Linked DNA regions of Homo sapiens: region 1 is linked to region 2. The links are contacts of gene promoters, found by promoter capture Hi-C in blood cells and fetal thymus (Javierre and others, 2016). All regions are on one chromosome and are shown on one strand. Each heading gives the region's core, a stretch centred on a gene start or on the middle of the fragment in contact. The rest is flanking DNA. Distances are from core to core; before and after follow the strand shown.

Region 1 (5,503 bases), core at 2,929-5,428, 82 kb before region 2:
CTTGAGAAAGAAGAGTAAGGTGAAAAGGCTGGGCCTCCCTAAGCAGGGCAGGAGGAAGTAGCCCTCTACAAGGAGAGTTGTGGAGTTGTGGGCAGGGGAGCTGCGGCCTGCAGCAGGAAAGACTGAGGAACTGAGATAGGCCTGGAGGGGAGCATTGAGGAGTCTGGCACTGAAGGTTGGTGAGTCAGCATTAGCCAGGATGTCCCCCTGGGCCCATCCTTGGCTTTGTTCAGGGCACTCTTGCTCTTTATGGGTTGGATAGATACCCAGCAGGTCTGTTTTTCTCATTTACTGCTGATACAGCAAGCAAGGATTTGCAGCTGATGGTCTCAAGGCAGGGTCAAATCCAGAAATATTACAGTAGATAGAACAGGGGACTGAAAGAGGACAAGGAGGAAGACCAAACCAATGAGGAAGCTTGGTTTGGTCTTACATTAGTTCAGGGGTTGTGATTATCAGCACAGGCCAGCAGGAACAGGGCTGCTGAAAATTTACATGGGCTACTCAGGTGGTTTAGCAAGGGAGGGAACAGCGCCATTGTTGTTTGTTTTGAGATGGGGTCTTGCTCTCTTGCCCAGACTGGAGTACAGTGGCACAGTCCTAGCTCACTGCAGCCTCAAACCCTGGGTTCATACAGTCGTTGCACTTCAGCCTCCCAAGTAGGTGGGACTGCAGGGCTCACACTACCAAGTCCAGCTAATTTTTTTTTTTTGCAAAGACGAGGTCTTGCTTTGTTGCCCAGGCTGGTCTCAAACTCCTGGACTCAAGCAATCCTTCTGCCTTGGGCTCCCAAAGTGTTGGGATTACTGGTGTGAATCACCATACATGGCTACAGCTGTACTGCTCAGATCAGGATACACCATGTACACTCAGTTTGGTTCTGGGAGTCACGTACAAAAAGAGCACCAGAGCACAGGAGGGTGAACACCTTCGAAGGGACCTGCCTTCAAGAAGGGAACACACTTGTACTGTGTGACCCAGAGCTGGGCTGGGATTCCTGCCCTGACATAATTTGAGAAATGGCCATGGAGAGGTTGGGCTTGCTTTCTCTTGGGGCCTAGGGCTTTGTCTGGACTCGCCAGGGCTTCCATCTTGGAAGCGAACAGCTTTGCTGGGGAAGGCCTGGTCCTAGGGGATGAGGAAGGCTGTTCTTGGGCTCTTGACTTGCACTGATTTCCCCTTTAGATCCCAGTGCTTGCTATGTCTCAGCTCCACTGTCTTCCAGCCTCTAGTATCCTTTCTTTGCCAGGTCCTAGAATGTTTTTCAAGCTCCAGGGCTGTTGCTGACTACCTGCTTTGTGCCTCTGTCCATTTTTTCAGGGCCTCTAGGACTGCCTGGTTCCACTCTCATTTATCCTAGAACACCAACTCAGTTGAGCTCCCAAGGATAGGCAGGAACTGAGTCTTATCTGGCATTCCATAAAGCTGGGCACTTTAGATATTCCTTATAGAAACATTTTTGGTGTTTAAGGTCAGAGCTGGGCTAAGGGTAGCACCCGTGAAAGGCAGGATCTACGGGTCCTGGGGCTGACTTCTCTCCCATGACCACTTCTAGGACCGAGAGGAGCGGAAGCTGCTGCTGGACCCTAGCAGCCCCCCTACCAAAGCTCTCAATGGAGCCGAGCCCAACTACCACAGCCTGCCTTCCGCTCGCACTGATGAGCAGGCCCTGCTCTCTTCCATCCTTGCCAAGACAGCCAGGTAAGTGTCAGAGGACCAGGCCTGGGTCAGAGCTCCTCTATCCATATTAAAGGCTAGGATAGAAGGAGCCAGGCTCAGGACATGGGGGATGGGACAAGGTCACTGGGGAGAGGTGCCTCCATGTCCAGCCCTGCTCCAGTAGGCAGGAGGGAAACTGGTGTCAGATAGCCCTGGAGTTGGTACCTGGCACTGAGTCCTGTTTGTCCTTCTCGGAAGCACCTGTCATGTCATCTCTGTCTCCTCTCCCCATAGCAACATCATTGATGTGTCTGCTGCAGACTCACAGGGCATGGAGCAGCATGAGTACATGGACCGTGCCAGGCAGTACAGGTGAGCACCTGGCCAGCGTGGGTCCCTCAGGCTACTTGGGCTCCCACCCTCCATCACTGTTCCAGCTTTGGAGCCTGGCCCCTAGTCCAAGCTTCTCATTTGGTGCAGCCCTGGAGACTGACCACAGATCACTTGGGTGCTTCAGTAGTTATTCATGTCAGCCCTGTTTACCCTGTGACACTCTTGAGGGCGCTGAGGCCAAGGGAGATGGGCCTAGATTGAGTCTGTGATGAGCTGAGACCTTCCCTCCCAGATACCCCTCCTCGACACCCTGCTTCTCTGGCCTGAGGGGATGAGGCTTACCTGGGCTGGGCAGGGCAGACTGTGGCTTAACTGCCTACCCCCACCCCCTCTCTCTTGGTCAGCACCCGCTTGGCTGTGCTGAGCAGCAGCCTGACCCATTGGAAGAAGCTGCCACCGCTGCCGTCTCTTACCAGCCAGCCCCACCAAGTGCTGGCCAGTGAGCCCATCCCGTTCTCTGATTTGCAGCAGGTGAGACACCCCTCACCTGCCCCTGCCCACCCTTCTCACACTGCCCAGGGTATGGCAGAGGGTTCACCCACTCTGCCTCAGAGGAGGTAGGGAAGGTGGAGTTAGGGAGCCTGGTAGCCTTGTAGGCCCCAGCTCCCTCCCACCTCGTTCTCTTAACTTTTTATGTCTTTCCTATCTCCTTCCTGCAACCTTTATTGTTTCACTCCCCTTTGTTCTTTTCCTTCTGTCTCTCCCATCCCTGTCTTTCTCTTTGCCTTCCTGTTCCCCTTCATTCCCTCCTTCTCCATCACCATCTAATCTCCCCTCCCCATTTTTCCTGATTGCCCTCCTCACCTGTCTCTGTTCCTCTCCTCCCCGGCCCCTCTCTGTCTCAGGTCTCCAGGATAGCTGCTTATGCCTACAGTGCACTTTCTCAGATCCGTGTGGACGCAAAAGAGGAGCTGGTTGTACAGTTTGGGATCCCATGAAGAGAGGGGTCCTTGGACAGCTCTTCTCCTCTCTTCATCCCATCTCTACCCCACCCCCTTGGCCCCCAGCCTCACTGCGGCTTATACAGTACCCTAACCTGCTACTAATCACAGAGAAAAATGTGAAGAAGGAGGAGAAGAGGAAGGCTAGAAGCCTGAGCAAGTGAGGGTAGAACCTTTTGGGACTGGCCTTTGAAGCTCTGGCCAGGGATGGGGTGGGGGCCAAAAGGACAGAGCCTGGTATGTCTTCATAGTCATTGAGAATGTGGAGATACCAGTTTGGGTGGGGGGTGATCACCAGGGGACCTAGGGAGATCCCCTTCCCACCCTCTCTGTTGGCCTCAGAGTCACTCCTGCCCCCTCTCCCTGACTTGGTGCTCACATGCACCTCACTAGGGTTTGTGACCAGGGTCTGGATGAGCTTGAATTTGAATGAATTGAGTTTGTATTTCTAGAACCCTGGGTTTTTACATGTTTGGTCTTTTTTTGTTTTGGTTTGTCACCCTCGATAAAGGAAGTATATTCATCCATGTGCTGGTTCTGGCCCCTCTGTTCTACCCATTCTACTTTTGATTACTTAGGTCTATGAGAGTAAGATGGGGGGAAGGGGACATCTTCCAGGGATATTGAAGATGAACCCAAGAGACAAGGGTTTAGGGTGTCAGCTCTTAGCTGAGACCTGGCTTGGGCTAACCTCAGACTGGATGAGACTGTTCTTGTCCCTTGTCCAGTGATGATGGGAACACTGTCAAAGCTGAACAGACCTGAATCTGAGGCAGCTTTGATTCTTGGGGGCCCTGCCTCAGACTCAATGGAATTACCAACAGCCCCTGGGGGTGAAGGGAGACATGGCGGGTTGGGGGGTGGAGAGAGAAAGCAGACCAGGCTCTTCTGGGAATACCTAATATGGAGTCAGCAAGCAAATGTTTTTAAGCAGAAGATTCTTTTTATCAAATGAAATCTTAAGCAGAATCCCAGCATATAAAACAGAATGGAATTACTTTGATCTGATTGAAGTGGGGGCTGGTTTCAGAGATCATAGGCCATCTTCTTGGCCTGTCATGGAGGCCTGTGAGGCATCTCTACAGACCCTGGTACTCTGTGAAGAGTTTGGAAATTACTGATCTACTTTAACCCCCAAATCTCTAAGCTGAAAAGTACAAAGGGGCCCAGAGAGTTAGATAAATTTCCCAAGGCTGTGTGGTAAACCCACGTCTCCAGTGTCCCAGGCCAGCAGGCCTTTCCCTCAATTGCCTCCCTTTTTCAGCAAAATAAGACTAGAGCTGGCCAGGTGCAGTGGCTTATCCTGTAATCCTAGCACTTTGGGAGGCTGAGGTGGGCAGATCACCTGAGGTCAGGAGTTTGAGACCAGCCTGGCCAACATGGCGAAACCCCATCTCTACTAAAAATACAAAAAAAGGCTGGGCGTGGTGGCTCACGCTTCTAATCCCAGCACTTTGGGAGGCCAAAGCAGACGGATCACCTGAGGTCAGGAGTTCAAGACCAGCCTGGCCAACATGGCGAAACCTTGTCTCTACTAAAATATAAAAAATTAGCTGGGGGAAGCCGAGGTGGGTGGATCACAAGGTCAGGAGATGGAGACCATCCTGGCTAACATGGTGAAACCCCGTCTCTACTAAAAATACAAAAAATTAGCCAGGCGTGGTAGTAGGTGCCTATAGTCCCAGCTACTTGGGAGGCTGAGGCAGGAGAATGGCGTGAACCTGGAAGGCGGAGTTTGCAGTGAGCCGAGATCGTGCCACTGCACTCCAGCCTGGGTGACAGAGCGAGACTCCGTCTCAAAAAAAAAAATTAGCTGGATGTGGTAGCAGGCGCCTGTAATCCCAGCTACTCAGGAGGCTGAGGCAGGAGAATCGCTTGAACCCAGCAGGCGGAGGTTGCAGTGAGCTGAGATCGCACCACTGCACTCCAGCTGGGGTGACGAGTGAAACCGTCTCAAAACAACAACAACAACAACAAAATTAGCCAGTCATGGTGGCAGGCGCCTTTAATCACAGCTACTGGGGAGGCTGAGGCAGGAGAATCTCTTGAACCTGGGAGGCTGAGGTTGCAGTGAGCCAAGATCGTGCCACTGCACTCCAGCCTGTGTGACAGAGTGAGACTCCGTCTCAAAAAAAAAAAAAAGAAAAGAAAAGGCTAGAGCTACTTGCAGTTGCCTGAGTTAGAGAACATCTCTACAAGGTGTAAGTGACTTCTCATCTGCTCAACAGCTCAAATTATTTATTGTCAAACCATGCTGTCTATGCTTAGGCCTTTAGGACTACTAGGGTCGTGGGAGCCTCAAAGTGTATTCTGCTTGGTCCAGGCCTTCTTGGGCTTGATGTTCATGCGTTTCCAGACTTCAGCTGTGGTGCGGTCTGCTTTGGTGACCCCACTGAAGTCGAACGTGGTGATACGGGACAGGGTGCACAGCACATATTGCCTGTGGGGAAGACTTAGGCTGGGGGCCAGCACCCCCACCAGAATCCCCTTCCCCCTCCACTAGTTGCTGT
Region 2 (5,517 bases), core at 2,902-5,401:
CACTGGAGCCCAAGGAGCTTGAGGAGCTGCGTGACAAGAATGAGAGGTACAGCTCTCCCTGCATTCCTTCCCAGGCCCCAGCCCCTCCCCTCACCCAGCCAGGAACCCATACTCTCTTCTCACTGCTTCCCTCCCTCGCAGCCTTACCATGCGGCTGCATGAAACCCTGAAGCAGTGCCAGGACCTGAAGACAGAGAAGAGCCAGATGGATCGCAAAATCAACCAGCTTTCGGAGGAGAATGGAGACCTTTCCTTTAAGGTGGGTGTTAAGGTGGTGTGTGCATGGAGGCCCCTCAGGGCTGAGGTGGTCTGGAAGGCTCCCCAAGAGAGGGTTGAGAAGAATGTCCCAGCACCTGTCTTATGCTTCAGTCTCTCCAGAGACCTGCATATTTTGCCCCTTTCCTTATCCCATAATTGGCGGCTTCCCGGGTACTGGGCTGTGACCCTAAATGTTGATTTGTAGTTCTGAATTAGAGGTGTGATGGCTGTGATTGGTTTGTAGAGGGTTGGCAGGATAATTGGAGGCATCCAGCCCCTGGGGTTCTGGGAGCAGACAGCAGTGGTGGGGTCAGCGTTGACTCTGGGTGATGGGGATTCTCACTTGCCCGTCTCAGCTGCGGGAGTTTGCCAGTCATCTGCAGCAGCTACAGGATGCCCTCAATGAGCTGACGGAGGAGCACAGCAAGGCCACTCAGGAGTGGCTAGAGAAGCAGGCCCAGCTGGAGAAGGAGCTCAGCGCAGCCCTGCAGGACAAGGTAACCCTCTGCTGGGGTCACAGCCACAGTCTTGACCACATGTGCAAAGCTGAGTCCAGTTTACCACTGTGCTCTTCTGGGCCTTTGGGTATTAAGTTGCTTTCTCTTCAAGGTTCAATAGTGTGCTGTAATTGAAAGATTGTGGGCTTCAGTCTAGTACACCTTTTTTTTTTAACTTATTTTTTTTTTCCCCAGTCAATGCCCTCACTTTATAGTACACCTTTCAATCCTATCTCTGCTGTTCACAAGATGTGGATCTTGGACAAGTTAATCAGTCTGTTTTTCTAAGCATCCTTTCCCTAAAATGGGAGTAGTAACGAGTAGCTGCCTCATCACCTATTATGAGAAAACGTATGTAAAGCACTTCACACATCGTGTAGTGTAAAGTAAGCTCTCAGTGAACCAGTTGTGATTGTTACTATTGGTAAGAACCCAATTTGGCCACTTACTAATAACCATGTAGCCCTTGATCAAGGCACTTAGCATCTGCTTCAGGTTCTTGCTCTGTAAGAGGAATGGTAGTAGCTGCCTCCCACATAAGCTGGGTGTGGTGATGCATGCCTGTAGTCCCAGCTACTCGGGAGGCTGAGACAGAAGAAGCTCTCGAATCTGGGAGGTGGAGGTTGCAGTAAGCCAAGATCTCGCCACTGCACTCCAGCCTAGGCGATAGAGCGAGACTCTGTCTCAAAAAAAAAAAAAAAAAAAAAAAAATTAGGGATGAACCCAGCATAGCCTATTGTAGGTGCTTAGTGAACAGTGGTGAAGAAGTGGGTTTGGGACTGGGGGTTGCTGCAGCTGCTGCCAGTGGTATTGCTGCCCAGAGGATGGTGGGCAGCTGGTGGTGATTTGGATAATCTAGGACTCAAGACTTATCTGAGGAAGGGTATACGGTAAGGAAATTTGAAGTAAACTCAGCAGCCTTGGGGAAGTAGTAAGCAGGTTACATTATGACTTTATTGTGCCTTAGAACTAGGTCTAGAGAATCAGGTCCCTCATGCTCCCAGTTCCATGGTTTCTGCTTTTTTCTAGGCCAGGGCAAAAGGAGATCTTGGTAACAAGATGATGGGCCCCATGTTTGCTGATGTTTATGAGGGCTTGTGTGGTAATCTGGTGCCTGTTCCCCCTCTCTGTTCACATGGGTCTCATTTACTCCCAGAAATGCCTTGAAGAGAAGAACGAAATCCTTCAGGGAAAACTTTCACAGCTGGAAGAACACTTGTCCCAGCTGCAGGATAACCCACCCCAGGAGAAGGGCGAGGTGCTGGGTGATGTCTTGCAGGTAGGAATGCACAGAAAGACCTGTGTGCTGCTGGTTGGTGTGGACTCACATTCAGTACATTTGGGTTCCTGGTGTTCCTCCATTTCCAGAGGAGTCTTGATGACTGAGGAGTCATGCTGATCCCAGTTTGTCTCTTTATACCACCAGCTGGAAACCTTGAAGCAAGAGGCAGCCACTCTTGCTGCAAACAACACACAGCTCCAAGCCAGGGTAGAGATGCTGGAGACTGAGCGAGGCCAGCAGGAAGCCAAGCTGCTTGCTGAGCGGGGCCACTTCGAAGAAGAAAAGCAGCAGCTGTCTAGCCTGATCACTGACCTGCAGAGCTCCATCTCCAACCTCAGCCAGGCCAAGGAAGAGCTGGAGCAGGCCTCCCAGGCTCATGGGGCCCGGTTGACTGCCCAGGTGGCCTCTCTGACCTCTGAGCTCACCACACTCAATGCCACCATCCAGCAACAGGATCAAGAACTGGCTGGCCTGAAGCAGCAGGCCAAAGAGAAGCAGGCCCAGCTAGCACAGACCCTCCAACAGCAAGAACAGGCCTCCCAGGGCCTCCGCCACCAGGTGGAGCAGCTAAGCAGTAGCCTGAAGCAGAAGGAGCAGCAGTTGAAGGAGGTAGCGGAGAAGCAGGAGGCAACTAGGCAGGACCATGCCCAGCAACTGGCCACTGCTGCAGAGGAGCGAGAGGCCTCCTTAAGGGAGCGGGATGCGGCTCTCAAGCAGCTGGAGGCACTGGAGAAGGAGAAGGCTGCCAAGCTGGAGATTCTGCAGCAGCAACTTCAGGTGGCTAATGAAGCCCGGGACAGTGCCCAGACCTCAGTGACACAGGCCCAGCGGGAGAAGGCAGAGCTGAGCCGGAAGGTGGAGGAACTCCAGGCCTGTGTTGAGACAGCCCGCCAGGAACAGCATGAGGCCCAGGCCCAGGTTGCAGAGCTAGAGTTGCAGCTGCGGTCTGAGCAGCAAAAAGCAACTGAGAAAGAAAGGGTGGCCCAGGAGAAGGACCAGCTCCAGGAGCAGCTCCAGGCCCTCAAAGAGTCCTTGAAGGTCACCAAGGGCAGCCTTGAAGAGGAGAAGCGCAGGGCTGCAGATGCCCTGGAAGAGCAGCAGCGTTGTATCTCTGAGCTGAAGGCAGAGACCCGAAGCCTGGTGGAGCAGCATAAGCGGGAACGAAAGGAGCTGGAAGAAGAGAGGGCTGGGCGCAAGGGGCTGGAGGCTCGATTACAGCAGCTTGGGGAGGCCCATCAGGCTGAGACTGAAGTCCTGCGGCGGGAGCTGGCAGAGGCCATGGCTGCCCAGCACACAGCTGAGAGTGAGTGTGAGCAGCTCGTCAAAGAAGTAGCTGCCTGGCGTGAGCGGTATGAGGATAGCCAGCAAGAGGAGGCACAGTATGGCGCCATGTTCCAGGAACAGCTGATGACTTTGAAGGAGGAATGTGAGAAGGCCCGCCAGGAGCTGCAGGAGGCAAAGGAGAAGGTGGCAGGCATAGAATCCCACAGCGAGCTCCAGATAAGCCGGCAGCAGAACGAACTAGCTGAGCTCCATGCCAACCTGGCCAGAGCACTCCAGCAGGTCCAAGAGAAGGAAGTCAGGGCCCAGAAGCTTGCAGATGACCTCTCCACTCTGCAGGAAAAGATGGCTGCCACCAGCAAAGAGGTGGCCCGCTTGGAGACCTTGGTGCGCAAGGCAGGTGAGCAGCAGGAAACAGCCTCCCGGGAGTTAGTCAAGGAGCCTGCGAGGGCAGGAGACAGACAGCCCGAGTGGCTGGAAGAGCAACAGGGACGCCAGTTCTGCAGCACACAGGCAGCGCTGCAGGCTATGGAGCGGGAGGCAGAGCAGATGGGCAATGAGCTGGAACGGCTGCGGGCCGCGCTGATGGAGAGCCAGGGGCAGCAGCAGGAGGAGCGTGGGCAGCAGGAAAGGGAGGTGGCGCGGCTGACCCAGGAGCGGGGCCGTGCCCAGGCTGACCTTGCCCTGGAGAAGGCGGCCAGAGCAGAGCTTGAGATGCGGCTGCAGAACGCCCTCAACGAGCAGCGTGTGGAGTTCGCTACCCTGCAAGAGGCACTGGCTCATGCCCTGACGGAAAAGGAAGGCAAGGACCAGGAGTTGGCCAAGCTTCGTGGTCTGGAGGCAGCCCAGATAAAAGAGCTGGAGGAACTTCGGCAAACCGTGAAGCAACTGAAGGAACAGCTGGCTAAGAAAGAAAAGGAGCACGCATCTGGCTCAGGAGCCCAATCTGAGGCTGCTGGCAGGACAGAGCCAACAGGCCCCAAGCTGGAGGCACTGCGGGCAGAGGTGAGCAAGCTGGAACAGCAATGCCAGAAGCAGCAGGAGCAGGCTGACAGCCTGGAACGCAGCCTCGAGGCTGAGCGGGCCTCCCGGGCTGAGCGGGACAGTGCTCTGGAGACTCTGCAGGGCCAGTTAGAGGAGAAGGCCCAGGAGCTAGGGCACAGTCAGAGTGCCTTAGCCTCGGCCCAACGGGAGTTGGCTGCCTTCCGCACCAAGGTACAAGACCACAGCAAGGCTGAAGATGAGTGGAAGGCCCAGGTGGCCCGGGGCCGGCAAGAGGCTGAGAGGAAAAATAGCCTCATCAGCAGCTTGGAGGAGGAGGTGTCCATCCTGAATCGCCAGGTCCTGGAGAAGGAGGGGGAGAGCAAGGAGTTGAAGCGGCTGGTGATGGCCGAGTCAGAGAAGAGCCAGAAGCTGGAGGAGAGGCTGCGCCTGCTGCAGGCAGAGACAGCCAGCAACAGTGCCAGAGCTGCAGAACGCAGCTCTGCTCTGCGGGAGGAGGTGCAGAGCCTCCGGGAGGAGGCTGAGAAACAGCGGGTGGCTTCAGAGAACCTGCGGCAGGAGCTGACCTCACAGGCTGAGCGTGCGGAGGAGCTGGGCCAAGAATTGAAGGCGTGGCAGGAGAAGTTCTTCCAGAAAGAGCAGGCCCTCTCCACCCTGCAGCTCGAGCACACCAGCACACAGGCCCTGGTGAGTGAGCTGCTGCCAGCTAAGCACCTCTGCCAGCAGCTGCAGGCCGAGCAGGCCGCTGCCGAGAAACGCCACCGTGAGGAGCTGGAGCAGAGCAAGCAGGCCGCTGGGGGACTGCGGGCAGAGCTGCTGCGGGCCCAGCGGGAGCTTGGGGAGCTGATTCCTCTGCGGCAGAAGGTGGCAGAGCAGGAGCGAACAGCTCAGCAGCTGCGGGCAGAGAAGGCCAGCTATGCAGAGCAGCTGAGCATGCTGAAGAAGGCGCATGGCCTGCTGGCAGAGGAGAACCGGGGGCTGGGTGAGCGGGCCAACCTTGGCCGGCAGTTTCTGGAAGTGGAGTTGGACCAGGCCCGGGAGAAGTATGTCCAAGAGTTGGCAGCCGTACGTGCTGATGCTGAGACCCGTCTGGCTGAGGTGCAGCGAGAAGCACAGAGCACTGCCCGGGAGCTGGAGGTGATGACTGCCAAGTATGAGGGTGCCAAGGTCAAGGTCCTGGAGGAGAGGCAGCGGTTC

Evidence for each region. Contacts are between HindIII fragments. The CHiCAGO score rates a contact against its expected background, and 5 or more counts as called.
Region 1: a contact is called between a fragment that was not itself captured here and the fragment with the promoter of NUMA1-AS1 in region 2, in 10 of 17 cell types (endothelial precursors, naive CD4 T cells, non-activated CD4 T cells and 7 more). The highest score is 13.1, in endothelial precursors.

Annotation. Positions count from the first base shown.
Region 1 is chr11:72,095,309-72,100,811 of GRCh38, reverse strand. All of the region lies in intron 5 of LRTOMT (leucine rich transmembrane and O-methyltransferase domain containing), which reads right to left. It overlaps LRRC51 (leucine rich repeat containing 51), which reads right to left. Exons shown (of 6, transcript NM_145309.6): 6 at 3,917-5,433. The coding sequence ends at 5,292. LAMTOR1 (late endosomal/lysosomal adaptor, MAPK and MTOR activator 1) reads left to right here. Exons shown (of 5, transcript NM_017907.3): 2 at 1,556-1,701; 3 at 1,954-2,031; 4 at 2,397-2,523; 5 at 2,898-3,520. The coding sequence ends at 2,990. Among named protein-coding and RNA genes, the nearest start is that of LAMTOR1, 5.2 kb to the left of the region's middle. The HindIII fragment of the contact is 4,108 bases long and covers 2,125-5,503 here.
Region 2 is chr11:72,012,925-72,018,441 of GRCh38, reverse strand. NUMA1-AS1 (NUMA1 antisense RNA 1) reads right to left here and starts at 4,151. Exons shown (of 4, transcript NR_104178.2): 1 at 1,555-4,151; 2 at 148-1,083. NUMA1 (nuclear mitotic apparatus protein 1) reads left to right here. Exons shown (of 27, transcript NM_006185.4): 11 at 1-46; 12 at 142-259; 13 at 615-755; 14 at 1,912-2,034; 15 at 2,182-5,517. RefSeq lists enhancers at 1-593, 2,750-3,497. The HindIII fragment of the contact is 6,447 bases long and covers 4,146-5,517 here.